7 separate regions of the Homo sapiens genome follow, and regions 1, 3, 4, 5, 6 and 7 are each linked to region 2. Evidence: promoter capture Hi-C in 16 types of primary human blood cells and fetal thymus (Javierre and others, 2016). All regions are on one chromosome and are shown on one strand. The core of a region is centred on a gene start or on the middle of the fragment in contact, and the rest is flanking DNA. Distances in the headings are between cores, read along the strand shown.

Region 1 (3,997 bases), core at 1,397-3,896, 340 kb before region 2:
TTTTCTCTTGCTGCTTTTAGAATCCTTTGTTTATCCTTGACCTTTGGGAGTTTGATTATTAAATGCCTGAGGTAGTCTTTTTTGGGTTAAATTTGTTTGGTGTTCTAAACCTTCTTATACTCAGATATTAATACCTTCTTCTACATTTGGGAAGTTCCCTGTTATCCCTTTGAATAAACTTTCTACCCATATCTCTTTCTGTATCTCCTGTTTAAGGCCAATAACTCTCAGATGTGCCTTTTTTTTTTTTTTTTTTTTTTTTTTTGAAACGGAGTCTCGCTCCGTCACCCAGGCTGGAGTGCCGTGGTGCGATCTCAGCTCACCGCAAACTCCACCTCCCGGGTTCACGCCATTCTCCTGCCTCAGCCTCCCAAATAGCTGGTACTACAGGCACCCGCCACCAAGCCCAGCTAATTTTTTGTATTTTTAGTAGAGACGGGGTTTCACCATGTTAGCCAGGATGGGCTCGAGCTCTTGACCTCGTGATCTGCCCACTTCGGCCTCCCAAAGTGCTGGGATTACAAGCGTGAGCCACTGCACCTGGCCAGATTTGCCCTTTTAAGGTTATTTTCTAGACCTTGTATGAATGCTTCATTTTTTTTTCTTTTGTCTTCTCTGGGTATCTTCAAATAGCCTGTCTTCAAGCTCACTAATTCTTTCTTCTGCTTGATCAATTCTGCTATTAAAATACTCTGATGCATTCTTCAATATGTCAATTATATTTTTCAACTCTAGAATTTCTGTTTAATTCTTTTTAACTATTTCAGCCTCTTTGTTAAATTTATGTGATATAATTCTGAATTCCTTCCTGTTATCTTGAATTTCTTTGCGTTTCTTCAAAACAGCTATTTTGAATTATCTGTCTGAAAGGTGACATATCTCAGTTTCTCCATGATTGGTCCCTGGTGCCTTATTTAGTTTGTTTGGTGAGGTCATGTTTTCCTGAATGGTCTTGATGCTTATGGATGTTTGTTGGTGTCTGGGCATTGAAGAGTTAGTTATTAATTGTTTGTATAGTCTTTGCAGCCTGGGCTTCTTTTTACCTATCTTTCTTGGGAAGGCTTTACAGGTATGTGAAAGGACTTGGGTGTTGTGATCTAAGCCATATCTGCATTAGAGGGCACCCAGAGCCCAATAATGCTGCAGTTCTTGCAGACTCATAGAAGTATCACCTTGGTGGTCTTGAATAAATCTGGAAGAATTCTCTGGATTACCAGGCAGAAACTCTTGTTCTCTTTCCTTTCTCCCTAACAGATTTAGTCTATCTCTGTGCCAAGCCACCTAGAGCTGTGTGTGGGGTGACACAAGCAACTCTGAGGCTACCACCACTGGGACTGTGCTGAGTCACACCTGAAGTCAGCACAGCACTGGGTCTCATCCAAGGCCCGCTGTGACCACTACCTGGCAACTGCCTATGTTCACTTCAAGCCCCAGGGTTCCACAATCAGCAGATGGTGAAGCCAGCCAGGCTTATGTCCTTTCCTTTAGTGCAGCAAATTTCCTCAGCCCCTGGGGTGTCCGGAGATGCAGCCTGGGAGCCAGGGACTGAAGTCAAAAACCTTAGAAGTCTACCTGGTACTGTATTCTACTATGGCTGAGCTGACCCTTAAACCATAAGACAAAGTCCTTCCCACTCTTCCCTCCCATTTCCACAGGCAAAGGAGCCAGTGCCCATGGCCACCATCAAAGACCTATAGAGGGTACTGCCAGGCTACCACCAATGTTCACTTAAGGCCCAAGGGCTTAATCAGCTTGTGTTGAATACTGTCAGTCATGGGACTCACCCTTCAGGGAAGTGGGCTCCCATCTGGCTCAAGGCAGGTCCAGAAATGCCATCCAAGAGCCAAGGCTGGAATCAGGGGCACCAAGGACCCACGTGATGTTCTACCCCACTGTGGCTGAGTTGGTACCTAAGCTGTAAGACAAAGTCCTTTTTACCTTTCCCTCTGTTTTTCTCAAACAGAAGTCTCTCACCATAGCCACCACGGCTGGGAATGTGCTGGGTCTCACCTGAAGCCAGCACGTCTAGATGCTGCCACTCTACAGTCTCACCTAAGGCTCACAATGTACTACCTGGGTATCGTTGCTGGTTCTTTAGGGCCCAAGGGCTCTTTAGTCAGCAGGTGATGAACCTGCCAGGACTGGGTCCTTCCTTTGAAGGCAGCAGGTTTCCTTCTGGTCCAGGGTGTATCTAGATATGCTGTCTGGGAGCTAGGGCCTAGAATGGGGGCCTCGTGACTCTGTCCACTGCCCTATGGTACTGTGGCTGACCTGGTCTCCAATTTGCAAGACAAAGGCCTCTTTACTCTTCCATCTCCTCATGCAGAAGAAAGGAGTCACTTTTGTTACTGCAAGCTGTGCTGCCTGGGGTTGTGGGAGGGGTAGCATTAGCACTCCCTTCTCTGCTCTGGCTGGTGTTTCACTAGGTTGTGTGCACCCACCCCGACCCCCTATGTCCACTGGCTCTGAGCTCAGTACAGCACTAGGGCTTGCCTAGGAATGGCAGTCTTTGTGGCCTAGACTGCTTTCAAGCTTGTTTAGGACCCCAGAGCACTTTAGCCCAAGGTGGTGAGGCTTGACGAAACTGAAGTTCTGACTGCTGGGATGGGCGATTCCCTTCTGGCTAGGGTTGGTCTAAATGCTCCCTCTATGGGTGGGTGTCAGCAGAGTTCAGCTTGGTTTTGCTTTCCACTATGACAGAACAGCACTGAGTTCAATGCAGGGTTCCACAATTGCTGTGCTCTCCCTCCCCAAAGCTTACAAGTTCTCTGCACCATGCATGGCCACCAGGAGATGGGGGAATGGTGGCATCAGCAATTCAAGATTGTCTTCAATGCTTCTTTTGGTGATATGATGTTAAAACCAGGTATTGTGATTGTTCGACTCATTTTTGTTTCTTATGAAGGTACTTTTATATGTGGATAGTTGTTAAATTTGGTGTTTTTGTGGGAGTGTGTGTGGGGGGGGTGATTAATAAAGACTTCTATTCAGCCATCTTGTTCCACCTGTGTTTTTGTGTTTCGTTGTTGTTTTTTATAGAGATGGGGTCTCACTGTTTCCCAGGCTGCTCTCAAACTTCCAGGCTTGAACAATCCTCCTGCCTCGGCCTCCCAACCTGCTGGGATTACAGGTGTGTGCCATCACACCCATTTGAAGACATCCTGTTTTGAAGACAAGCCTAGGCTAAATGACCTAGCTTACTGTCTAATGATGTATGTTGCTAATGTTGTCAAAAGCATATTTGCCCATGTTACCTTCCTTAATTCTTGACCATGATTGTCTTCTTCATTAAGAAACTAGGAAATGGAACTTTGATCAACTGCTGAAAACTACTTACTCCATAATAGAAAGAGAAGTATAATGAACGAATACTAGATTCTGAGCTGAATGAACCTTCCTAATTTTCTAAAACCCCTTTTGCTAGATCCAAAGGATTTTGAAAAGGATCTGGGATGTTTCCCATAATAAAGAAAAAAGGCAGTTTATAATTCAGATATTAATGATAAGAGTGTACAAAGAAAAGGTTTTTTTTTGAGTTTTCAGAGTCTAAATAATAGAGTAAAAATAAACATGAAAAGTTATGAGATCAAGTGTAGGCATTACAGGAACTGCTCAGCTATGCAAAGAAGCTGTTTAAGAGAGGAAATTAATCTGTCTATAACTAATAAGAATAAAGGCAGCTTATATCAGACAGCATAGAAATAATTTATTAACTAGTCTTCAATTTAAACATCTATTATCAAAGCTGATTATTATATATTGCAGTGCTTTTCAAATTTCACTTCTTAATAGAACCCCCTTCTATTTTTACAACTGAAATTTCATAAAATAGATAAACATGAAGCTGTTCTTTTTAAAGCAAGAACTTCAAAATGAGGAGGATAGAATAAAATCCACTTGATCTTCCCTATTCCCACTGCACCAGACCTTAAGACTCCTCTAAGAAAAGAGTTTGAAAATCATCAGTTCAAACAAGGTGTTCTATTAGTCTAAGTAA
Region 2 (4,224 bases), core at 133-2,632:
TGAGGCAGGAGAATTGCTTGAACCCAGTAGGCGGAGGTTGCAGTGAGCCGAGATCGCACCACTGCACTCCAGTTTGGGCGAAAGAGCGAGACGCCGTCTCAAAAAAAAATAAAAAAGAATGTGACTTTTGTAGAACTTGATCAAATCCAGACCCAAACGGTCCGCTCCTCGGAGAGGCCACAGATCGGCGCTGAGCTGGGCTGTCTCAGTTCTGCAAGTGTCCTGTGCTGCCATCTACCGGTGTCTGGGAAGCGTCGCCCTCCCTTATTGTATCTCCTGGGGAGAGGTTGGAGAGGGCGCCGCTTAAACTGCAGAACATATGTAACTGTCATGCAGTTCATTAGACACCTGTACAAGGGAAAGGCCTCACTTTTCTCCAGCAATTGCAGGCCCTCCTAACTCCATATCAACACTCATCTCGTAAAATTCACAGATCTCGCTGACCTGCCTCAGTAGGTACTGATCTGACTCCTACTGTCCATCCCATCCCAGAACCCACACCCGCCTGCACAGCGTAGGCTTCAGAAACTGCTCAACCTCGCAGACCTGAACCCCACCGCCCAGATTCCCTCATTTTCACAGACCCCTGAGATTCCTTGCACTACCTTGCAATCCCTACGGACCTCCCCTATTAGTGCAAATGCACGCGCCCACCCAGACATCCCTACAAAGAGGTTAGAGTTCCGGCGGCAGCTCACACCGGTGCGAAAGCAGCGAGATAGCCCCAACCCGGCTCAGAGCCCTCAGGCTGGTGGCTTTGGCCCTGGCTCCATCTCCCCACCTCTGCCCTGATCCGCTCCGCTCAGGCTAGCAGCCTGCCGGCCGAGGCCCCGCCCCTCTAGACTTGTCATCACAGAAGCCGCACGTGGCCGGGGTGGGACCTCAGGCGACCTGCGACCATCACTTTGTCTCCTCCTTCCTCCTTTGGGGCCGCCACCGCCAATCAGAGCCAGCGGATCCTGGTTGGAGTGCGACCGCCCGGGTGAGGCGTGAGGGAGAAGGGGCGGAAGGAGGAGGGGCTCTGAGATGGGAGGGGGATCGTGGTGGAAGGGTCTTGGCGCGACTTCTGCCAGGCTGGAATCCGAGGGGGCGGGTCCTGGTGAAAGGCGGAGAGACCGAGAGGAGGCGGGGATCGGGGGTGGGGCCTGGGAAAAGCTGAGGATCCTGGGGAAATGCAAAGAAAACGCGAAGGAGGTGCGAGGTCAGAAGGGGGCGGGGCCCGGGCTACAGGGGAGGAGCTCGAGAAATTAAACGAGGAAAGGGACAAGTCCACAGAAGGTGGAAGGTGGGACAAGGGAGAGGGTGGGCCCGGGCGTTGCGGGGGCGGGGCTCAGACTGAAGGGGCGAGGTTTGCAGGCGGAGGCTACAGCTAGGGCTGCTCAGTAACTGCCCCAACCACTACCACGTCCCCAAGTGCAACGGGACCCACGGAACTACAGGTGTGGGGCAGGGTGAGCGTGGAAGAAGGGACGCGGATGGGGGTGCGCTTTGCAGACGATCTGGAGACTGCTGTGTGTTGAGGGAAGATACGAAGTCGCGGGAGCAGTTGGGGACTCAATGTGTGGGCAACAAGGTGCATTCTCCAGAGGCCTCTATGGGGGAAGGGCGGGAGCGCTTTGTTGTGGGGGGGTTGCGAGGTACATTGTGAGGGGGCTGTCTCTGTCTGATGTGGGGGGTTGGAGGAGGTACATGAGGGGCAGGGGACATGGAGGTGCTTTGAAGGAAGGGGGGCTGTTTAATGGAGAAGGAGTGTAGCGGTGTCGGAGGGTCTGCGGGCACTATCTAGGGGAAGGGGTTGTAGGCCCAACTTGAGGCAGGAGAACAGAACCCCCAGTACTTTGACAAAGTAACAGTTTAGGGCATTGTAGTAACTACAGGAAGACACTTGTGTTCTGGGTTCTAAGAGCAAGGGTGTTGGGGTTAGTGGGGTGAAGAGGCCAATCTATTGCACTCCTGTCTGCTCAGCTTTTAACTCCGCCTTCTGGCCTGGGCACTCAGAGAGGAGTCAGACCCTGCTTGTCACTAGGGCTTGTGTGAATGTCTCCTCAGTCTATTTTGGATCTGTCCAGCTGAGACTGGGGTTTCTTCCCTAAGCTGAGGTCCCGGGGGACCCTTCCCCCGCTGGGTTCCTGTCAACCCCCCATCCTAGTTCCTGTTCCTCCCAGAGCCGGCCTTGGTCTCTGTCTCCCCCCTCCCCCGCCCTGCCCTTATGCTCTGGGTGTGCTCATTTCCCACTTCCTTCCTTGCCCCAGGGCCTGGCCTGGCCCTTGCCCATCTAGGAGCTGTGCCCTGCCCGGTACTTTGTTATCAATGACCAGAGACCCTGGTAACCAGCGGCAGGGCTCAGACCCCACCCCCACCACTACCACCCAGGTCTCTCGCATAGATCCCCAAGTGACTGGTAGCCACATTTAACCACTTGCCACAAACAGATTTTCCCCACCCTTATCCTTCTGGGTAGGGAACGCTAGGGCTTCTGTGGGAGGGGGGAAGTGGTGAGGAGTATTGAGGGTCTTCTGTCTGTTTTGAGAGGTGGGCCACGACTGTAAGCTGAACCCAGTAAGGGTTGTGAGGTTCCAGCCACAGCTAGGGGAGGAAGAGGGAGTGGCTCCCCACACTCCAGGCTTGGAAGCACTATCAGAACAGGCTAGGACCTAGTTCTCTTGAGGGCTCCTCTGCTTCCCTGAGGGGATTTGATGGAGTGCTAGAGTTCTTTTTGCCCCTGGGCTGGCTGGGAGAGGGTGGGAAAGGCTTGAGTTCCACACAGTGGCTAAATGAGTGTGACAGTGTTGCTAAAAGGGGCCCCAAGCCAGCCTCCTCACACAACCACCCAGGAGCTGAGAGACTGGCTGGGGAGGGGGGTGGGTCTGCTGAGGACAGACAAAGCCCTGGGGTAGGGTGGGGTAAAAAAGGGCAGGCTGAAGCCTTTTGAGGAGGAGCTGATTGCTATGGCAACACTGCTTCCCAGACAGTCTCTCAGAGAGGGCGGGCCTAGGGCAGACTCTCCAGCTTCCTCAGGACTGGGGCGGTTTGTGTGAGTGGGTGGGGCATGAAGAGAAAGGGCATCAGTTTGCTGTGCTGAGACTGGAGGATATAGCCTTTCTGCTTTGGTACAGGCAGCAGAGCATTCGAATGCCTGGAGCTATCCTCTGATATGGAGATGAGTGAACAACAGTCATTAGAATTGTAGAGCTGCAGAGGCCCTCAGCAGTCATTGTTTATACAAACACCTCATTTTACAGGTTTGGAAATTTATGGCTAAAGAGACTGTGATTCCCCAGATGTCACAGTGAAAGGGCAGAAGATAGGATCCAGATCGCCGGATTGCTGTTCACTCAGCCCAGGGCCTGTTGTTTTCTTCAGTCAATGTTTATTGAACATTGCCAGGGACTAATGTTGGCTCTGGGAATATGAGCATGAACGAAACAAAGTTGCTGCTCTCATGGAGCTTCCATTCTATTAAGGGGAGAAAGAAATTGTGGAGGGGGAGGGAGAAGTCAAGTAGTGATAACCGCTATATAAAAAAAAATAAAGCAGGATAAATTTAGGGCAGGAAGGTAAGGCCTCTTTATTTATTTATTTATTTATTTATTTATTTATTTATTTATTTATTTTTGAGACGGAGTCTCACTCACTCTGTCACCCAGGCTGGAGTGCAGTGGTGCGATCTTGGCTCACTACAACCTCCGCCTCCTGGGTTCAAGTGATTCTCCTGCCTCAGCCTCCTGAGTAGCTGGGATTACAGGTGCGCGCCACCACACTCAGCTAATTTTTGTATTTTTAGTAGAGACGGGGTTTCACCATGTTAGTCAGGCTGGTCTCGAACTCCTGAGCTTGTGATCCGCCCACTTTGGCCTCCCAAAGTGCTGGGATTACAGGCGTGAGCCACCGTACCTGGTGGTAAGTCCTCTTGGTTGTACCCTGCTGCTTTCCCAGGGTACACTGAGGCCTGGAACATCTTTGATCCTTCACCCTGAACTATTGTCCTCTGACCTTTGTAGGTAACCAAGGCCTGGCCTATGGTAGTGGCAGAAAGATAGAATAAGGTGGGGTTGCTAAGGGATTATTTTTTTCCTACAGTGTTCTACGTCTCTGTTTTCCTAGTAAGTTTTTATTAAGGCAAGTAGGCTCTTACATTGATACACTGTAATTTTGACAAGGGCATTGAAAATTTCCTTAACCCTGTTCCTTACACTAGGGAACCGGCAAGGAAGTCAGCCCAAG
Region 3 (4,235 bases), core at 1,433-3,932, 300 kb before region 2:
GCACAATTTAGGACATGCTCAAAAACCAAAGGCCCTATTCCCTACTCCCTTTACAGACCTTTGGCTTCTCCCTTTCTGTAGGGCAGAAGCTGACAGGAACATCCAGGCGGATGGAAATTGGGAGTTGTGCTTTCGTACTCTGACCACATTTGGAATCTGGGACCAATGATTTCTCATCAATGCAGTAAAGGTAAAATCAGGCTTGTATGACTGAACTGCTAGACATTACTTTCAGTGCTTCTCCATCATAAAACCTTCCCTGGGATAGCAGACGAGGGTTTGGGAGTTATATGAAAAGCCGTCAGTTAGAAACAAAATGCCTTGGTGATGCTAAAAAAGCAATTTAAATCTAAAGGATTCAAACCTTAACCCCTTCTGTTTAGGGTTGCCAGATTTAGCAAATAAAACATTCAGATACAAGATAAGTATGTCCCAAATATCAGATGGGACACACATACTAAAAAGTTATTTGTTTATGCAGTGGCATGATCTCGGCTCACTGCAACCTCTGCCTCCTGGGTTCAAGCGATTCTCCTGCCTCAGCCTCCCGAGAAGCTGAGATTACAAGCACGCGCCACCATGCCTGGCTAATTTTTGTATTCTTACTAGAGACGGGGTTTCACCATGTTGGCCAGGCTGGTCTTGAACTCCTGATCTCAAGTGATCTGCCCACCTTGTCTTCCCAAAGTGCTGGGATTACAGGTGTGAGCCACCGTACCCGGCCACTGGGAACTTTTGATCTGTCTTTTCTAAACAACTTTATGAGGTAAAATTTATAAACCATACAATTCACCTATTGAAAGTATAAAAATTAGTGGTTTTTAGTATGTTCACAGAGTTGTGCAACCTAAATGTCTACTTTTGTGTTTATTTAATGCTCTTTTGTAGAGTATTCTGTTACTAAGACTCTGATTAACTTTCCTGTCTACATGCCACAATATCTATGCCCTCTTCCTTCCTAGAGTCCTTTTTCTTTTTTTCCTTTTCTGTCCTTTCTTTTTAGTTTCTCCAACTTAGTTATTTTCCATTTGTGATTACACTTTTTTCTTTTTATTAATTTTAAGAATTACCCAAAGTAATATAAAAATACATTTCCACTGTAAAAGATTCAAAAACAAAAATATATACAGAAAAAATTTAAAGTTTCCTTTCCTGTGCCTTCCACTCCTTCTTTTCCTAAGGAAACCACTATAAATAGATTGGTGTATATCCTTTAGGTCCCTTCCATTTCAAGGAATTTATACACAAATATTTATGTATATATACACATCTCTCTATATATATATTTTTAATGAGATCCTACTACATGTATTGCTCTGCAAGTTACCTTTTTCTTTTTACACTATGTATTGGTCATCTTCCCTTGTCAATATGTATAGATTTACTCCAACCTTTTGAATTACTACCTAGTATTATTAAGCTACCTTTTGATAACTGTTGATAATTTTTATTGTTGTCTTGTGGTGGTGGTGGTGGTGATGAAGATGGTATTTACAGAAGTGTGTGGAAGGTAAAGGAAAGGGAAAGGAGAAATATAATAATGGGACAGTCTTGCAAACTCTCTAGGACAGAGAGAACTCTGAAGGCACTATGCTAGGCAGACAATCTAATGGAATCACACAACATAGATGTAAAACAGCAAAGCATGTCAAGGCAGGGTGTACATAAGATGTTAAATGAATTGTAGAGACCCAAGATAATTAAAATTGTATGTCCACACAAAAACTTTTACACATGTTTACCGCAACATTACTCATAATACCCAAAAAAATGGAAACAATTCAAATGTCTATCACCTGATGAAGAGATAAGCAAATTGTGGTATATCCAAACACTGGAATAGTATTCCGCCATAAAAAGGATACATACTACAATAAGGATGGGCCTTGAAAACATAAGTGAAGGAAGCTAGTAACAAAAGGCCACATTTTATATGATTCTATTTATATGTCAAGTCCAGAAAAATCCATTAGTGGTTGCCAGGGTATAGGAGAGCAGAGGAAAGAACTGAGAGTGAATGCTAACGGGTATAGGGTTTCTTTCTGGGATGATGACAATGTTCTACAATTAAGTTATGGTCATGGTTTCAAAACTCTGAATATATTAAAAATCACTGAATTACATGCTTTAAAAGGGTGTATTTTGTGACATGTTAATTGTATCTCAATAAGGCTATTATTTTAAAAAACTGGGCCAGGCATGGTGGCTCACACCTGTAATCCCAGCACTTTGGGAGGCCACTTGAGTGGCCTCCCACTCAAGTGGGTGGATCACTTGAGCCCAGAAGTTTGAGACCAGCCTGGGCAACATAGTGAGATCCCATCTCTATAAAAAAGTACAAAAATTAGCTGGGTGTGGTGGCATGTGCCTTTAGCCCCAGCTAGTTGGGAGGCTGAGGTGGGAGGATCACTTGAGCCCAGGAGGCTCAACCAATGAGCCTCAAGTTGCAATGAGCCAAGGTCACACCACTTCACTCCAGCCTGGGCAACAGAGTGAAACTCTGTCTCAAACAAACAAACACTGTAGAACCCAAGCACTACAGGAATTCAAGAAGGAGAGATAAAGGGGGGCAGGGCAGAATTGTTGGAAAGAGCTTCATGGAGAAGGACTTGCACTAAACTCAAGAGACGAACACAGGTTAATTAGGTAGAGATGCAGGGGACAGTTCTGTAGGCAGGAAAAAGGACTTAATGAAAGGGTTGGCATTGAGACTAGACAAGTTGTATGATAGTACAGTAAGTACGAAAATCTGAAGGAGGCAGAAAACAAGAACTTCAAGTCAGGACTTTAATATTAGGATAATGATATTAAACTTTATCTCAGAGAATCCTACAAAGATTTTGAGTAGGGGAAAATGTGATAAACTGGAAGTTCAGAAACATTAATATGATAGATTTACAGGGGAACGGAGTGCAGACAGAAAGACCACTTAAAAGACGGCTATAATAGTCAACACTTAAAATGATGAAAGGCTGAACTAAGAAGTGGTAGAAAATAGAAAGGAGAGGCCCGGCATGGTGGCTCACGCTTGTAATCCCAGAACTTTGGGAGGCCAAGGCGAGTGGACCATTTGAGGTCAGGAGTTCAAGACCGGCCTGGCCAATATGGCGAAACCCCGTCTCTACTAAAAATACGAAAATTAGCTGGGCATGGTGGTGCATGCCTGTAATCCCAGCTTCTTGGGAGGCTGAGGCATGAGAATCACTTGAACCAGGAGGTGGAGGTTGCTGTGAGCTGAGATCGTGCCACTGCACTCCAGCCTGGGCAACAGAGCAAGACTCTGTCAAAAAAAAAAAAAAAAGAAAGAAAGAAAAAGAAAAGAAAATAGAAAGGAGAGGGTAGACAACCAAGATGTTAGAACTGGCCAGTATTTATGTACTGTAGATTTTCCAACCAGAATAGGCCTGAAGATTCTGAATATTCAAAATAGTGTTACCTGCCAAATGATTGGGTTTAGCACTGTCGTTTTGTAAATTCAGTGGAATAGGCCAAAATCTTGGGTAAACCAGTATTAATTGCTTACTGCTCAAAATAGCAGAAGCAGTAAATCTACCTGCAATAGGTAGTCCTAGCCTACCTGTAGGGATTTACCAGGAAAACTGGTTTCAACTCTTTTTCCTTGGTAAAAGGTTTGGCTTTTGAAATAACACACATTTATAGATGAAGTTCTTAATTATCTTTCTGATTGAAAGTGTCAAGCTCTTATAGATTATTTTGATTATTTTTTACACATTTACCAGTGTTTATCATGTGGCAGATACTGTCCTAAATGCTTTATAAATATTACCTAATTTAATCCTTACAGCAACCTTATGTGGCAGCACTTTTATTATTATCCCCATTTTACAGAGGAGGAACTGTAGCAGAGAAATTAAGAGATTTGCCCAAGATAACGTGGTAAGTGGTGGAGCTAGGATTCAAACCTAGACGGTATGACTCCAGAATTCATGCTCTTGACTACTATACTTCCCATATGGTATTTATTTCACTGCATTTATGGCAGATATTTTATATTTATTGGTGCTATTAAATATGCTGTTAATTAATGTTTCCCCTCGCTAAACCATAATCTCGCTAAGAGCAGAAATTCTGTCTAGTTTTGTTGCCATTGTATTGCCATACCTAGCACAGTGGCTCGCACTTATTTAATAATCAATAAATATTTGTCGAATGAATTGATCAGTCTTTATTGATGATTATTACATTTTTCATTTGCCTGGAACTTACCACACCCT
Region 4 (4,381 bases), core at 1,507-4,006, 460 kb before region 2:
CAACAAAATGACCCTGAAGCAGAGTGGGATTTTTATCTTTTCGCTGAGTTATTTTTCTAACCTTGTCATCTTTAGCTGGCTTAACCACATACTTTTTTCTCCACTTTTTTTCCCCATGGCACAACAAGCAGATGACAATACTTGCAAGTCATGACAAATTAAATCAAAGAATGTGGTCAACTTAAACTCCTCTGAAAACTGGCCAAAGTTCTCCTTGTATAAAGCCAAATTAGACATAAAAAATGGCACATGCACTCCAGGTGTCCCCCCCATTTCCATGGGCTACCTCCCACAATGGACACAGTTTGACTTTAGGGGCAGTCCCACTCCTGGTGGTACTGGTTGGGCATACTTTCTTGGGCAGTTGGGGGTATAGGCTGAGGCTAATTGGAAAAGGGGGAGAGGTGCCTGATGACCTTGGGGTGGAGTCCTTTGTTAGAGAACTGGTGGGACCCGCCTCACAATTGGGAGACTGAGGAGATTCCAGGGAGGGCATAGACCTTCTAGGGGGAGCAGCTAGGAGGAGATCCCTTAGATGTGGCTTTCTGGTGCCTTAACTAATGTGAGCCAGTAAAGGGTCATAATAGCCCTTTACTGTACATAAGGGACCTCTTCCGATTTTCCTTCTTTTTTACAGAAAAAGTCCAACTGTAAAATATCATAGCATATAAAACCATGTTTAGGCCATATCTGTTGGTTTTATAGTTTGTATTGAACCCAAACGGTTTTGCAATAGAAAATGAATTTTTCTTTAAGCTGAATTAGCCTGAAGGGCGTCCTAATGGTGAGTTATCTGGAATACTCATCATTGTCCCCATGATTAACAAGGATTTTTATGCGCACAAATTTTTCTAAGCAAGAGGGAAAGTAACTAGGCCCTTGTTATTTTTCCCTTTTAGATTCCCACTCCCTGTAGAGAAGGTTTAAGTATAGGTAAGAAGGCATTACAAAAGTGGATTACAAGCCACAAAAGGGCAGTAGAATGTTGAGCTTAAATTCCACAGAGTGAGGGTTGTTCAGAGAAGGCGGCTAAACACATGGAGACTGTGGAAGAGAGGAAGGGAAGGGGATAAGCAGCGTTGCCTGAGGAGAGACCGCAGAGGCCCTGACTTGCCAGAGACCCTTCCCAGTAGTGGAGACACCAAAAAAAAAAAAATAATAATAATAATGTTCAGGTGGCCACTCGTCTACCGCTGTTGAGTGGTTGTCCATCAGGCCAGGGGCCTGGGAACTCCTGGTCCGTTTGATGTAGAGGGGCTTGAGCAAAGCAGTTCTAAGACAGAATACGGTAAGGGGCTTGCAACTGGCTGTCAGGAAAACAATAACTTCTAACTTCAGGGCAGAAAAAGTTGATACCAATATTCCCGTAGTGGGTGGGGCTATAACCTATAATCCTAGAGGGAATGTCAATCCTGAAAACCCCAGAGCATCTGGGAGTGGCCTATCATACCAATGCTGGAAACCCAGAGTGCCTGTTTCAGCCAATGAGGGTCCCCTCACCAAATGCCAAAAACCTGGGGGCACCAAGGGAGTGGCCAACAGTGAACCCAAGACCAAGTTGGGGTCATAGAACAATGTGACTCTGGTGTCCCAGAGTTGACGCAACAGAGCACAACTAAACATCCAGCCTTAAACAATTGCTCAAACACAGTTAACAGAAAGTCAAAAGGAAACATAACGCTTCAAATGAAACGTAAATTTTTGGACTCGAAATAAAAATAAAATGATTGGTGGAACAATAATATGGAGTCAGAGAAGAAAGCACAGGGGGGAGAGGTCACAAGGATGTGCCTCAGGGCACTCATACTGTGGGGGACTTTTAACCACTTAGCCGAAGGCTTTTTATTCCCCAGCTCACTAGATGTTATGGAGTAGGGGAAGAAGGGACACTTACCCATCCATAGGAGCCAAATGGCACCAGCCAGTCTTTCATGTGGGACCCTGGTGAAGGTCCCTCCAGGACCCCCCAGCTTGGGTGGGCTCAGCTGTCACACAGGGGGCAAGCATAGGGACTGGTAACCCACTGGCCTGCCATGGTCAGAGCTCACATGAGGCAGTGACATTATGGCCATTAGTGTGTCTGCTTGGCCCTGCCGCCTGCCAGGGAAAATGATGGCTCTGAAAAGAGCCTTTGGTTAGTGTTAGCAGCTCTTTATTGTTACAGCCTCAGTGTTATAGCTCTTGCAGCCTTGATCACAGACCGCTTTGCGGTCTCTCGCTGTCTCTGCTTGGTCTTGTCAGTCTCTCACTGTCTTCCCAGTTGCTGTCTCTCATAGTCGTCACCTCTCCACTGACCGCTGATTGCCACCGTCTCTGCTGTCCCACCATCTCACCTGTCTGCTGACTGCCACTGTCTCCACTGACTTGCTGCCTCTTGCTCATTATCTTTTTCCTTTCATTGATCACCAGATGATGGGAGGGCAGGTGAGCCCCCAAATTGGGGCTTAGCCTTGGGAGGTTCTTAGCTTTGCCCAGGAAAGAAAATCCAAGGATGAGCCAGTGGTGTTAGACAGCAACTTTTATTGAAGCAGCAGTGTATACTTAAAAAATTTGGTAACAGAGTACATCTTTCTTTTCCCATTATGCTCTTCCAAGATCCTAATAAACCTGCAGAGGTACTGGTCCTTGTGGAGCAGGGCTGTCCTATAGGCTGTATGCTCAGAGCAGCAGCTCAGAGGCAGTGCTGCATTCAGATTTATACCCACTTTTAACTACATGCAAATTAAGGGGTGGACTATGCAGTAATTTCTGTATGTAAAGGGTGGTAACTTCCAGTTCATTGGGTCATTGCTGTGGAAAGGGGTGGTAACTTCTGGGTGTTGTCATGGCAATGGTAAACTGACATAGCACACTGGTGGCCATGTCATATGGAAAACCACTTCTGCCCCATCCCTGTTTTAGCTAGTCCTCAATTTGGTCCGCTGCTGAGCCCTGCCTCTGGAGTCCAGTCCCACCTCCTACCTCATTATCTTGATAGTATTTCAGACTACTCAGGTAGAGTGAATTCCATCTGCAAATCACGCATGAGCCAGCTTGTAGTTATGAAGTTTTAGGGGAAATATGTCCCCCTTTTTCACTTGGTACCAAGTTTTGAGATAGGCAATTTTCTTTGTAGTCCCCTGAGGAAGGATTTGGGGGGCAGATGGATTTCTAGGGGCAAGGTGGGGTGCGGTGACTCATGTGTATAATCCCAGCACTTTGGGAGGCCAAGACAGGCGGGTCACTTGAGGTCAGGAGTTTGAGACCAGCCTGGCCAACATGGTGAAAGTTAGTCTCTACTAAAGTAAATACAAAAATTAGCTGGGTGTAGTGGCGGCGCCTGTAATCCCAGCTACTGAGGTGGCTGAAGCATGAGAATTGCTTGAACCCAGGAGGCGGAGGTTGCAGTGAGCCGAGATTGCACCACTGCCCTCCAGCCTGGGTGACCGAATGAGACTCCATCTCAAAGAAAAAGAAAAAAAAGACTAAAGGGACATAACTTGATGCATGCCAGTTTTATGCAGGAAAAATTTTCTGTTAGACTCTCCATCTTGGGTGGTCACTGAGTTTTATCTCCTTTTCTCAGTACTTCATGAACCTGTGAAAATGAACCTCCAAGTTTGTGTGGCTTGGCCAATGCCATTAAGCCAAAAGTGCCTTCTATCCTTTGCCTAGTTTTTGGCCTCTGATGATTTCCCTTTTTAAAAAATCACTTTATTGACATACAGAAAGTTGTACAGCAGGTTCTCAAATGATGTTTCACTCACTGTTGTTACTTTATAACATTGATATGAAAAAATATTTTATTTTTATCATTTTTTAAACTTTTTATTTTTATAGAGACCGGGTCTCTGTCACCCAGACTGCAGTGTGGCGGTGTGATCATAGCTCACTTACAGCCTCAAACTCCTGGGCTCAAACGGTCCTCCCACCTCAGCCTCCTGAGTAGCTGGGACTACAGGTGTGTACCACCTTGCCTGGCTAATTAGTCCAGATAATTAATTTTAATTAAATTAATTTTTTAAATTTTATTTTTTATTTTTGTAGAGAGGGGGGTCTCCCCGTCTTGCCTAGGCTGGTCTTGAACCCCTGGGCTCAAGTGATCCTTCCACCTCAGCCTCGTAAAGTATGGGGATTACAGGCGTGAGCCGTTGCACCTGGCCAGGGGAAAAAAAGGTTGATTCAGGCCAGGACCACTGTCTATATGGAGTTTGCATGCTCTCCTCATGTACGGTAAACTCTCGTACCCATCATTTCACATCATTTCTCTGAAAGTTGCAATTTCCAAGAACCTATTGACAATACTGAGGACTTACAATACATATTTAGTGTATACAGCTTGAACTTGGAGGTAAGTATAGAACCATGAAACCAGCGCTATAGTCAATGCCGTAAACATATC
Region 5 (4,077 bases), core at 732-3,231, 350 kb before region 2:
AGCAGAAAAAGAATGGTTCTGCGTCAGAACAGGACAAGCAAATATATCATCCTGGTTTCTTTCTTAGCAGGGCTAAGCATCTGAAAATCAGAGTGTCTTCCTTGGGATTCTACCCTTCTGAAGGACCCTTCCCACCAGCCAACCCATTGTAATGCTGACTTTGGCCATTATCACCCAAGGCTTTACCACCTGGACCCAGATATACTTGATTAACTTTTTTGAGTCATACCTGGCTTTTATTCTTTTTTTTTTTTTCCATAATGTATCCAGGAAAAGTTACAATTTTGGAATTTCTGCAGTAATGCAAGGTGTGATAGAGTAACAGTTAACTTATAAAAGGCTGTGTTGGCCCAATTGGAGGATTATTGCTCCTGTCACATGGGGAAGACAGAGAACCTTGACACACTCAGAGTTTATTTCAGAAGAAGGAAAGAAGCTATGAAAATCAGGAATAGTTTATGGGCTGACCCTCTGATAAATTTCCAGGCAGAGCCAGCCTGCCTGTGGTGTGTCTCCTCCCACAACAACCTCTTCTCATTTTATATAAGTTTTCCCTATTGCCTCTGTCATACTCCTCTTCTGCTCCAAATAGCGTCCATTATAGATTCTTTATGGCTAACAAGCATGTTCATTTTAAAACAGTGAAGACTTTTAAGGGGTCTCCTTCTTATCATCATTCATACTTAATGTGTGTTAGTCTGCTTTATTATAAGAGTGATTATTAGTAATCCCTGTCTGAGACAGCTGCACTGACAGATGGGGATTTTTTCCTTTGAGGTGAGGAAGGAGGTGCTCAGGTCCTCATCATTGACTCATTACTGATAATCTCTATGCCTGGAGTTGGGACCCCTCCCATCCTTTACCATATCAGCCACCATAGCAATCTCTCTAAACCTTAGCACATAGTAGATACTCAATAAATATTACTAAATAAGGTAATCTAGTTACATAGGGTCCTTTTTTTTTTATTGCCAAAAAGCCCCGGTACAGGGTTTAGAAAGCCTGGAAAGGAGGAAACTAAAATGTGTTTGGGTGTGTGTATGTGTAAGGAAATGCAGAACCCAGAAAAGGATGATCAGAGTAGGGTAAATACTTTTTTCAGCTATTTCAAATTTTCATTCAAGGTGCTTATGAAAAAGAGGAAGGGAAACCCTTCCTCTTCTCTTCCACAACTTTTAGGAGTTGAACTTAGGTCACAATTACACCTATCTACCATCTGTCACACTGTTTGTGTGGGAAAATGGATTCTGAATTCTGATTAATTGACTTACAAGTGAATGTTTGGACCTATCTCATTGGTAAACTATGGGCTGCCTGGCCTATCTTCCTGGGGAAACTACCCATGCTTTAAGCATCACCAAATTTGTGTGTATGTTTTCTAGTTATTTCATGTGTTTTTATGTCTTATTTAGCCACTTACTTTATAAGTTATTTGAGGGCAGGGATAACTGTCTTTTTGTATAAACCACATAGTGTCTTCCTAGCACAGTATTCTGGACATGGAAGGCATTTATGCAACCTCTAGATATATCTCAGAGCATTTTGTACACCACCTACTGTGGAGAGTGAGGGGTTAAAGAGCACAAGTGTATGCTTTTTAAAAGTTCACACTCTGGTTGGGGAATTAAGTAGACAGTATGAAGTCAGCTCCTCCCCCACACCCCAAAGTGATCAAAGAAGCCTACCTGACATAGAGGGAAATGGGCACCATGGTATTGAGAATAATGAAGTAGGACCAGAATATGAGGATGGCAGAGACAGCTGATGAAGAGACATATTTTACCCATGGCAGAAAAATCTGGAAGTGGTAGCATTTCTTGTTCTGCCAAATGCCATGCCCAACTGCTAGGACAAAACACACGATGCCTAAAACCAGGAAAATCGATACATGAAAAAAAAAAGAATTAAATTAACATTTTATCCAACATATGTGCTGCTTCAGTTCTACAGTCTAGAGCCTTATCTCTCAGCAAAGCGTCCCTCTCCTAGGAGGGCAGGGAGGCCCTATAGTTCACAGTCTCTAGGCAGCAGTACATAGGACAGAAAAGAAAGTCCAGCAGAAGCCCTCCTTGGGATTTTCAAGGGAGATAATAGTAATAAAACATAGTAATAACTAACCAAGTGCTAGGTACTATGCTAAGTATTTATACATATTATTTAATATTTACAATAATCCTCTTTTAATAATAGATGAGGAACTTAAGAGTGAGAAAGAATTTTGTCTAAAGTCACTTAGCTACTGAGTAGAAGAAACAGGTTTTGAACCAGTTCCAGAACCCAAGCACGTAATCATTCCATTATTGAAGCTGCTTTAACAGAAGTCTAAAACGTGTGGGGCTTAGCAGTTAGGGGGTGGGTGATAAGGAAACTGATATAAAAGGCTGAAAATATGGTAGTCATGTTAACATGAAAGAATTTGATAAAACTGAAAGGTAGACCATATGCCTACTGAACCTGCAGCTCTAAGAGAAGTGGTTAAAAAGAATCAAAATATCATTGTGTATTGACTGCCTTTGACAGGTATTAAAAGAAAGAGTTGGTTGGGTGCAGTCACTCATGCCTGCCATCCCAGGATTTTGGAAAGACCAGACAGGAGGATTGCTTGGGGCCAGGAATTTGAGACCAGCCTGGGCAACATACTGAGACCTCATCTGTACTAAAAAATTTTTTTTAAAGTTAAACTAGGGAAAGAATTAGCCAATTTGTAGGCAGAAATAAGGAGGTACAGAAATTTGGGGCATCAAAGAACTACGACTTCTAGACACTAAACAGGAAGAGATAAGATTGAGACCTTAAGCAAAAAAGGCCCAATAATTGTTTTCAACTGAATAAAGTGACTCAGCCTTCGGGCAAAGTTCAGGTTAAAGGTGATACCTTCTTACCCATGACTATTATTCCGCATAGCCTCAACTTTCTTGCCAGTAAGTTGAGAGAGAAGGGCATGGAGGGGCAAGGAAGCAAAGAAACAGGATAAACTCAAAAACTACGTCTAGGAAAGAATTTTGGGGGGCAGGGGGTTACTGATACATGAAACTAATTGGAAGCAAACAGATGAGAAGCCTTATGGGTTTTGAAGGAATGGTATTACTAGATAACTATGAGCCTGGTCTAAAAAAGCCTGTGACTGTTTGGAAATCCTTAAAACCACACTGGGCAGGAAGCAGGTTATAAAAACTGCAGTCCCTAAGAAGAGCATACTCCCCAACATCCACTTCAGGGTTGGTCAGCAAGGATAAAGAATGAGGGAAAACTTCTCAGGAGTGGAGCCAGAAATCACTGAGAGCAATGAATAAAGGAGATCCTCTCACATCTCCAGACCAAGAGGAACTTCATTTAGATCTGATGGAGAGGACTGTGCATCAGTGAGAGATCTTGGACTCTGAGTTGGATGCAGAGACTGGGTAGGATTTGGGGGAGATGATGAGGGTGTTCCATATGTGGGAGGAAAAGTGAAATGGTATGATGATCAGAAGGGTAGATTGTGGCAGCGATAATGATATGTATTCATTAAATTCTATTTTCTTTTCCTTCTGAGCACATATCTAGAGCACATTTCCCAAGCTCTCTTGCAGTTATATGGGTCATGTAACTCTGTTCTAGCCAATGCAATGCTGGTGGAAGTGATTATGCTACTTACACGCTTGGCCCTAAAAATCTATTATGTGTGGCCGGGTGCAGCAGCTCACGCCTGTAATCCCAACACTTTGGGAGGCCGAGGTGGGCAGATCATGAGGTCAAGAGATTGAGACCATCCTGGCCAACACGGTGAAACCCCATCTCTACTAAAAATACAAAAATTAGCGGGGTGTGGTGGCACACACCAGTAGTCCCAGCTACTCAGTCCTCAAGGCTGAGGCAGGAGAATCGCTTGAACCCAGGAGGCAGAAGTTGCAGTGATTCAAGATCGCTCCACTGCACTCCAGCCTGGGCAACAGAGCGAGACTCCGTCTCAAAAAAAAAAAAAAAGAAAAGAAAAAAAATCATGTGTGAGTCTTCCTATTCTCTCTTTTTCCCCATCTGCTGGTTGAATGCAGGGAATCCAGTAGAAGATCCTGAAATCCAAGAGGTTGGTGGGGC
Region 6 (3,828 bases), core at 1,031-3,530, 430 kb before region 2:
GATTACAGGCATGCGCCACCATGCCTAGCTAATTTTTGTATTATTAGTAGAGATGGGGTTTTACCATGTTGGCCAGGCTGGTCTTGAAAACCTGACCTGAGGTGATCCGCCCGCCTTGGCCTCCCAAAGTGCTGGGATTACAGGTGTAAGCCACTGTGCCCAGCCCAATTACTTTTTTTTTAAACAAGGCCTGAAGGAACAACCAACCAGTGATCTTTCTAAATGCAAATCAAAACATATAATTAAGCAGACAGAAAAACCAAACCAAACAAAAACAAACAAATGCCAAAAGCCATTTCTCTAAAATTTTTCAGTGGTTCCACCTGTGTTCCACTATGGCTTCACCAAATTATATGCAGTTCCTAGAAAGGGTCAAGCTATTCTGTGCCTTTGTGGTTTTGTACAGACAATCCTGTGAGCCTAGAACATTCTTCTTACAAGTCGTCACAAAGCCCAATCCTAATCATCTTTCTAGATTGGGCTTAAATGTAACTGCATTAGCAGTTCCTCCCTGACGTTTCAGTCTGATTTACATACCCCTTTCACTGGCCAGTACGGAACACTGCCATCTCTGCATTTTAATGATCAACTACGTTTTCTGTTTCTGTCCTTAGCTGGAATCCTTGAAAACAGAGTCATCCCTCTCATCTCTCTGTCACTAGCACCACCTTAACACACTGGTATAAAATATTTATTTAAAATGTAACAAAATAAATAGGGAAAGAGCTGGCCTAGGGAGGCCACTGCACTCCAGCCTGGGCGAAAGAGCAAGACTCCGTCTCAAAAAGAAAAAAAAAAAAACTTCACTGACGCCCAGTGTGTGTGTGTTGTTGTTGTTAGACATATCCCTTGGTTGCCCCTTAGGCACTGCAAACTCCTAAAGGTCTGAACCTGAACTTTTCTTCCAGGAAATCTCCTGTGATTACAGCCCCTATCCATGGCCTCATCTTTCCCATCATCCAGGTTCAGAATCAGTCTTCTGAATCCTTCATTTCCCAATATGTCAGCCTCTAAGTCCTGCTGATTTTATCTCCTCAGTGTATTTATTTATTTTTTTTTTTTGAGACAGAATCTCACTCTGTCTGCCCAGGCTGGAGTGCAGTGGTATGATCTCAGCTCAGTGCAACCTCCACCTCCTGGGTTCAAGCAATTCTCCTGCCTCAGCCCCCTGAGTAGCTGGGATTACAGGTGGGTGCTACCACTCCTGGCTAGTTTATTTTTTATTTTAGTAGAGCTGGGGTTTCATTATGTTGGCCAGGCTGGTCTCAAACTCCTGACCTCAAGTGATTCGCCTGGCTTGGCCTCCCAAAGGGCTGGGATCACAGGTGTGAGTCACTGCACCCAGTCTGCTCAGTGTATTTTTGAGTCCTCTGTCTTTCTCCAGTGAGCCTATTCCACTGTAGCTGTGGGTCCTGCCCTGGCCTAGAAGGATAACAGATCTAGGATGTGGAACCTCTAGTGGTATGGATGGGGTGGTCTGGCAGGGACCTGTCAGGGAGGTGGCCATGCATATCCTGCTGGTGAATAGCCACATATTTGCTAACCCTTAGGCTCCTTACCGTCAGCTCTAGCTCTTGCATCCCTCTGGGTATGGCTGTTGGCTGGGCTCCCTGGGAGAGCAGGCCCTGGATCCATCAGCTGAGCCAGGGGGCCTTGCCCAGTAGCTCTGAGGCCAGCAGGAGGCATCTCACTGGAGTGGGGTCCCTGACAGACCTGGGTGGACCAGGGTGGACTTGGGTCTGGGCCAAGTAGGTCCATGCCTGGCCCCAAAGGCATGGGTGGCAGGCTATGGCTACAGCAAGTGCCCTCATCCAGTGGGGCCCCCCGATCTTGCTGGGCTTCTTGGATGGGTGAGAACTCCTGGGAGGAGTCCCCAACACTCACACGAAGTGGGGGCGAGCCAGAGCCTCCAGTTTTCTTCCGGCCCTTGGCCAGCTCGGCAAAGGAGGTGACCCTCCTGGGTGGGGAGCCAGGCCCGGCCATGGCTGCAGGGCCCTCACTCAAGCGCACTGGGCAACTCAACATACGTTCCAGCGAGCCCAGGCGGACAGGAGGGCTGCGCTGCAGGCTGCGATCATAGCTGCGGGAGCGCTGACGTCCAGTGCTGAGGTTGGGGGGTGAAGTATTCGTGTATACTTGTCCCTCAAGCACAGTGGGGCCCACAGCAGCTGCTGCTTGGGTGGAGGAACTCACTGCTTCTTGTTCCTCTGGCTGGACTTCTGGCTTCTGGAATAGGTAATACTCAGAGGGCTGGCTGGGGCCTGGGTCTGGGCCAGGGCCTGGTGGGGGACTTATCTTGGTGTGTTCCTCAGAGCAGCTAGTGATGGAAGAGCCAGCAGGGCTTGGGGATGATTGGGAAGATAGGTCACAGGTGACAAGTTTATAGTAATTTTGTGTGGCCACAACAAGACGGGCCTGGCTTTGGAAGCAGGCTGTGAGGTCAGCCACTGCTGGGCACGGCTCACAGTGTGGGCGGTAGGAGTTGCAGTTGGCATCAAGCTCAGGAGAAGAGGCATGAGGGCAACCATAGCCCCCTTCCCTTCCTCCACTTTCAGGGTGATGGGACTCATAAGACATCTTAGACTCAAATGGGGAGGGCTGCAGATCCAGATAGAAGGCGCCAGGGTCTGAGTGGCTGCAGAAGGAAGAGTCGCTGCAGGACTGTGGGGCAGAGTTGAGATTGGCACGGGGGGTGCCATGCATCTTGTTGTAGAGGGTGCTGAAGGTGACCAGCACACCATCTGAACTGTTGCAGGAGGAGTCGCTCACATAGCCCATGGACTGGTCAGCTGCCTCGGACTGACTGGATGTGCTACTGCAGCGGCAGTGCTGGTCCCCTGAGCCGGAGCATCCAGGGTTCCTTGGGGATTCATCTGAACTGAGCTTCCATTCCTGGTCAAAGGAAAAGCCAGAGGTATCGCTGGCTCCACCCCCACTGCCACTCCCACCAGGTCCCCCACACTCATCCAGCTCCATAGTCTCTGCTTCCAGCTCTGGCCGGCAGCAGTGGCTGGTGCCGCACTGCTGAGTATCCAAGGTCATCACTGGCTCCTGTTCCTGCCCTTCCACCACTCCAGCCCGACTGCGTGTTGTCCCCCATGGCCTGCCCACTCTGGGGCCAGATGGTGGCAGCTGGAAAGAGGATAGATGAAAGTTGGGCTGGCCAGTGCCATGCAGGTGGAAGGACTGCTGGGTGGCACTGTCACCAATGCTGTCATCATACAGGTCACCAAGTCCTGGCTCACCCACACCCTCCTGCAGCAAGAAGGGGTTGTGTCGTTTGGGGGCTCCAGGGCCTCTTCCATCCCGACTCCTACTCTTGGTGCTGTCTATAGACCGTGCAGTTCCTCCTGGAGTAGAGTGCAGGCTGCTGAATAGCAGGGAGTCAGCTTGTCCTAGGTCTTGATCGGGCTGGGTGATGCCCAGCTCAGGTGGGCAGAAGGGATTAGGTCTTGTGCTCCCACCACCTCCACCTGCCCCTCCACAGCACTGCCTGTCTGGGACTTGGCAGTGCACCAGGGGGATGTGATGAACGATGAGGGTCTCTCCAGTCAGCTTTGGGGGACTATCCATTCTGGAAAGTTCGAATAAGGGCTTCAACAGCACCAGACACTGTCCCTGGAGCCCAGTGGGGCAGAACACATTTCATCAGGAGAGCTTGGCACCTGGAGAGAGAGGGAAAGAAAGGGAACCTAATGTCACCTCCCTGGAAGTCAGGGGCATGCCCTTCCCTACATCATTTTCAGATGGAGAAGAGCCCAGGAAGAGAAAAGGCTTGAGTCAAGATGGAGCTTGACCACACAGCCCAATAGGCAGGTGGGGACGTAA
Region 7 (4,154 bases), core at 815-3,314, 370 kb before region 2:
TGGCAACACTGAAGTATTGGAGGTGAGGAGAAAAATAACCCAGGGTGTTCTGGGGTAACTGAGGTCTTAACAGGAAGCCTAGACAGGAAAAAGTAGAAAAGGCCATTAAAAAGATACTGTTAAAAAAAAATTGTATTGCTTAATCCATCCAGATCAGGAGCCCCTCCCCACACTGGGTTTCTATGATCCAAGGCTTTATTTTGAGACAGAGCATTGCTCTGTCACCCAGGCTGGAGTGCAGTGGCATGATCTCAGCTCACTGCAACATCTGCCTCCCAGGTTCAAGGGGTTCTCCTGCCTCAGCCTCCTGAGTTGCTGGGACTTCAGCCTCCTGAGTTGCTGGGACTACATGTGCACACCACCATGCCCGGTAATTTTTGTATTTTTAGTAGAGATGGGGTTTCACCATGTTGGCCAGGCTGATCTTGAACTTCTGACCTCTAGTGATCCGCCCACCTGGGCCTCCCAAAGTGCCGGGATTACAGGCTGAGCCACTGTGCCTGGCCTGATCCAAGACTTTATAAAGACATGTAAGAGGGTGGGAGACAGAAAGCGGAAAAGGATACATCAAAACTAGCAATGGATGAATGAGAACATGTCCAGCCTCCAGTTAAGGCAACTGTGGCTTCAAAAAGGAATCTTAAATACCAGCACAGAAATCAGAGGGATCCTAACCTGGCTCAAAACAGAAGAGAAACAGTGGCTGGCCATACAGCAGGACGGGCATAACTAACAGAATACCAGGTATACTGTTTGGATCTGCTCTTCCTTCCATTAAGCCATCCACCACTGCTTAATATCTAAGGAGCCGGCTAAGAAAATCCAGTCACTACTTTTATTTGCTAATACTTTGAGCCCCAGTTACAATAATGCCACTACTAATTAGGTAACTACTTTCTACCTTATCAACTCCTACAGCTTTCCAGCCATTGTTTCATCCCTCAGCGATACCACCTGCTTCCGCGTGGAACCCAAACCCCCAGGAAACTAAATCTGCTCAGGTCACCCACCTAGGAATAAATAAAAACAGGTTTCAGGCCCTTTGTCCTTTGTAAATTCCGCCTTTTTTTTTTTTTTAAGGCCTGTGTTCTTTATCACGGACACTGTTCACATAGTGGTAATCCTTGCCTGACTCAGATCTACTTGTTCCTGCGTTTCATTCCTCCGCTGCTCAATTACTTGTTCAAAACGCAAAGGACAACTGGTAGTGAAGACCCTCCACCAGCAACACTACCATGTGCCAGGCACCGTGCTGGGGACCGGGGATACAAAGATGAGTAGTGTACCGTCCTTGCCCCCAGGACAGTTCCCCGTGTCCGCAGGGCCGGCCTGGAGGGCCACAGCCAACTGTGGGCAACAGGATCACCGTGCCCTTCGCGGCAAGTGAGTGCAGTAGTAGGGGACGGTTACTGCCAAGCCAAAGGTTTTCTCCAGGTAAAACTGGATGACAGAGAGACAGAGACTGAAGCAACGCCGGCGCCGGGCGGATAATAAAGGGAGGCAGGGGCTAAAAGGGTGGAGGGAGCAGAGGACCCGGCCGGGAACTGGCAGTAGGGAGGCCCCCGCTGCAGTCGCCGGCCTGGGTGCCGGGCGGCCACGCTTCCCCAAAGCCGTCACAGGGACTTGGGGTACCAAGGTGACTACTGGGCGCGAGTCGTTTTGTGGGGGGAGGGTGTCCCCAAGGGGGCAGTTTGAGGAGACGGTTGGGGATGCATCTGGGGTGGCGCCCAAAGGGACGGTGGGTGCTGGGTGTTTGAAGGTCCGGTGGACGCAGAGCTGAAGGGTCAGGAGAAGGCCAAGGGTCAGAAGGGCTGGGGACGAGGTCTGCCCAGGGGGTCGGGGCGGACGCAGAGGGCGGGTGCAGCCGAGGGGGAAGGGCTGAAGGGAAGGGCAGGCGCTGAAGGCACATAGGTGGGAAGACAGGCCCTCCCCTAAGGGAGACCTTGGAACGCGGGGCAGTGGGTCTGTGGGACCCTGCCCGCCTCCGGAGAGGCGTTCCTACCTCGTTTCTCGCCTCAGCCTCGTCCTTCCGCGCCGGCGGCGGCGGCGGCGGCGGCGTGTCTCGCCCTCCAGGGGTCGCGTTGCAGGCTAGAGGCGCCGGCGGCCCCTCCCTCCGGGCGGGTTGGAAAGGCCGGCCCCTGTCGGCGTGGCGCGATGGTCCGATCTGGGTTGCCCTCAGGCCGCCCCTCCGGGCGGCGCGTTGGTTCGGTCCGCCCGGCCTAAGGTGCTCGCCCCCTCCCCGGCTCCCGCAGCGATGGGCGCAGCCGAGTCACGCGCAGAGCTTTCCCGCTAAGGGAGCGGAGAGGCTTCCGCCGTGGCCCAATCTTCTGCGGCCCGCGCCCGCCCCCGCGGGGTGGTGCCTGGCGACGCGCGGCTCCCGGGTGCTGGAACCCAGGGAAACCTTCCGCGGGCCTCCAGGGCCGGTGGGTGTGAGTCCCAGCTTCGCCTGAGGCGGCGGTTCTCAACGCTGGCTTCCCAGTAGAACCTAGTGTGGAAACTAACCAAACAACAGAAGGAGGGCTGACCTCACACTGGACCGACTCAGAACCACTGGGGTGGAGTGGGGTGGGGTGAGGTGGGGTTGGCCTCCAGTGCATAGCCAGGGTTCGGAACCCCTGATGAAACGTAGAACCCATGCGCCCCCTGCCCTTCAGGGCCGGATGTGTGGGGGACATGGAAGATGCCTGTGTGTGACTCCTGCTGTTTACAGCCAGAGGGGGATGGGGCAGGCAGTCCTGCAAATGTTATGGGAAACCCACTGTATTAGTCCGTTCTGACACTGCTATGAAGAAATACTATGAAGGAAAGAGGTCTGACTCACAGTTCCGCATTGTTGGCGAGGCCTCAGGAAGCTTATAATCATGGCAAAAGGCAAAGAAGTAGCCATCCTTTTCGCAGGGTGGCAGGACAGAGTGAGTGCAGGCAAGGGAAATGCCAGACGCTTATAAAATCATCAGATCTTGTGGGACTCACTCACTGTCACGAGAAGGGCGCAGGGGAAACCAGCCCCATCATCCAATTACCTCCACCTGTTCCCGCCCTTGACACAGGGGGATTATGGGAATTACAATTCAAGATGAGATTTTGGGTGGGGACACAGCCAAACTGTTACAGGTAGTTAGGCATGAGCGGGGCAGGAGAGGGTTCTCCCCTGCTACCCACTAGGGATGTTGGGTGATGGTTCTGAGGCAGGAGAATAGGGACTGGAGGCAGGGAACCTAAGACTGGTTCATGCCAACTTCCTGGAACTAAATTGAAAGGAAAACCCTAACTTTCCACACCTAAGTAACAAACCCCCCACCCAACTTTTCTGCCCAGCAGATGGGAAATTGGCTATCTGCAACCAATTAGACTGACTGCAGCCGAGTCTAACTTTGCATAGAAGTATAACTTTGTAACTTCACCCTAGCCTCTGATTGGTTGCTTCTTGCAACCAATCAGATGTTTGCACAGGTGTGCGACCTTTGTAACTTCACTTCAGCCTCTGCTTGGCTGCTTTCTGCAACCAATCAGACTGATTGCAGGCTACGAATTCATTTACATGAGGTGAGCATGAAGTGGCGGGTAACTTCTAGGGGGTATTTGGACCCAAGAAGATTCTGTTTCCTGGCCCTTGAGCCGCTGCTCCGGCTGCTCCCACACTGTGGAGTGTGCTTTCGTTTTCAATACATCCCTGCTTTCCTTCTTTTGTTCCTTCATTCTTTCTTTGCTTTGCTGGGCGTTTTGTCCAATTCTTTGTTCAAAACGCCAAGAACCTGGACAACTTGCAGTCAGACCCTCTACCAGTGACAGTTCCATAATTACCTCATTGCTTCTTTAAAAAGGATAATTCGGCTGGGCCAGGGAGAGGCCATTTCCTGATGGTCCACACATGTTAACATCAAAATGCTAATTGAATGCAGGCCTCAGGGAGAAGCAACTTTCTGGGCATGCGTGTTAAGAGACAAAAATGGTGACGTATGATCTCCTGGGGGCACCCTCCACCGGAAAACGGGAAGGAAAGCACTGCGCATTCGGGAAGCCCACTCTAAGGGAAGAATCATGGGAAAGAGGCCAGCCTGTAAAAGTCCTAGGATCTTGGTTAGGCACTTGACCTTCTCTCTTTAACCTTCACGTGCCCGCTTGGGTTTCTTCCAAGCGCACCTTCCTTTCTT

Evidence for each region. Contacts are between HindIII fragments. The CHiCAGO score rates a contact against its expected background, and 5 or more counts as called.
Region 1: a fragment that was not itself captured here is called in contact with the fragment with the promoter of ATOSB in region 2 in 1 of 17 cell types (M1 macrophages); the score reaches 5.8 in M1 macrophages.
Region 3: a fragment that was not itself captured here is called in contact with the fragment with the promoter of ATOSB in region 2 in 1 of 17 cell types (M2 macrophages); the score reaches 5.4 in M2 macrophages.
Region 4: a contact is called between a fragment that was not itself captured here and the fragment with the promoter of ATOSB in region 2, in 2 of 17 cell types (M1 macrophages and M0 macrophages). The highest score is 5.7, in M1 macrophages.
Region 5: a fragment that was not itself captured here is called in contact with the fragment with the promoter of ATOSB in region 2 in 9 of 17 cell types (M2 macrophages, megakaryocytes, M1 macrophages and 6 more); the score reaches 13.8 in M2 macrophages.
Region 6: a contact is called between a fragment that was not itself captured here and the fragment with the promoter of ATOSB in region 2, in 7 of 17 cell types (M2 macrophages, M1 macrophages, M0 macrophages and 4 more). The highest score is 9.9, in M2 macrophages.
Region 7: a contact is called between the fragment with the promoter of RUSC2 here and the fragment with the promoter of ATOSB in region 2, in 9 of 17 cell types (monocytes, megakaryocytes, M1 macrophages and 6 more). The highest score is 14.3, in monocytes.

Annotation. Positions count from the first base shown.
Region 1 is chr9:35,451,345-35,455,341 of GRCh38, reverse strand. It overlaps the pseudogene ATP8B5P. Among named protein-coding and RNA genes, the nearest start is that of RUSC2, 37 kb to the left of the region's middle. The HindIII fragment of the contact is 224 bases long and covers 2,535-2,758 here.
Region 2 is chr9:35,113,020-35,117,243 of GRCh38, reverse strand. It overlaps ATOSB (atos homolog B), which reads left to right and starts at 1,382. Exons shown (of 9, transcript NM_025182.4): 1 at 1,382-1,439. RefSeq lists a silencer at 1,178-1,237 and an enhancer at 2,571-3,400. The HindIII fragment of the contact is 12,182 bases long and covers 1-4,224 here.
Region 3 is chr9:35,410,536-35,414,770 of GRCh38, reverse strand. It overlaps the pseudogene ATP8B5P. Among named protein-coding and RNA genes, the nearest start is that of RUSC2, 77 kb to the left of the region's middle. The HindIII fragment of the contact is 5,623 bases long and covers 1-4,235 here.
Region 4 is chr9:35,573,318-35,577,698 of GRCh38, reverse strand. No RefSeq gene overlaps it. Among named protein-coding and RNA genes, the nearest start is that of CIMIP2B, 12 kb to the right of the region's middle. The HindIII fragment of the contact is 7,332 bases long and covers 1-4,381 here.
Region 5 is chr9:35,466,933-35,471,009 of GRCh38, reverse strand. It overlaps the pseudogene ATP8B5P. Among named protein-coding and RNA genes, the nearest start is that of RUSC2, 21 kb to the left of the region's middle. The HindIII fragment of the contact is 5,907 bases long and covers 1-4,077 here.
Region 6 is chr9:35,546,267-35,550,094 of GRCh38, reverse strand. RUSC2 (RUN and SH3 domain containing 2) reads right to left here. Exons shown (of 12, transcript NM_014806.5): 2 at 1,560-3,665. The coding sequence starts at 3,573. Among named protein-coding and RNA genes, the nearest start is that of CIMIP2B, 16 kb to the left of the region's middle. The HindIII fragment of the contact is 7,783 bases long and covers 1-3,828 here.
Region 7 is chr9:35,488,021-35,492,174 of GRCh38, reverse strand. It overlaps RUSC2 (RUN and SH3 domain containing 2), which reads right to left and starts at 2,064. Exons shown (of 12, transcript NM_014806.5): 1 at 2,003-2,064. It overlaps LOC105376026 (a long non-coding RNA gene), which reads left to right and starts at 548. Exons shown (of 2, transcript XR_929580.4): 1 at 548-744; 2 at 919-1,056. RefSeq lists a silencer at 2,096-2,395. The HindIII fragment of the contact is 5,552 bases long and covers 1-2,854 here.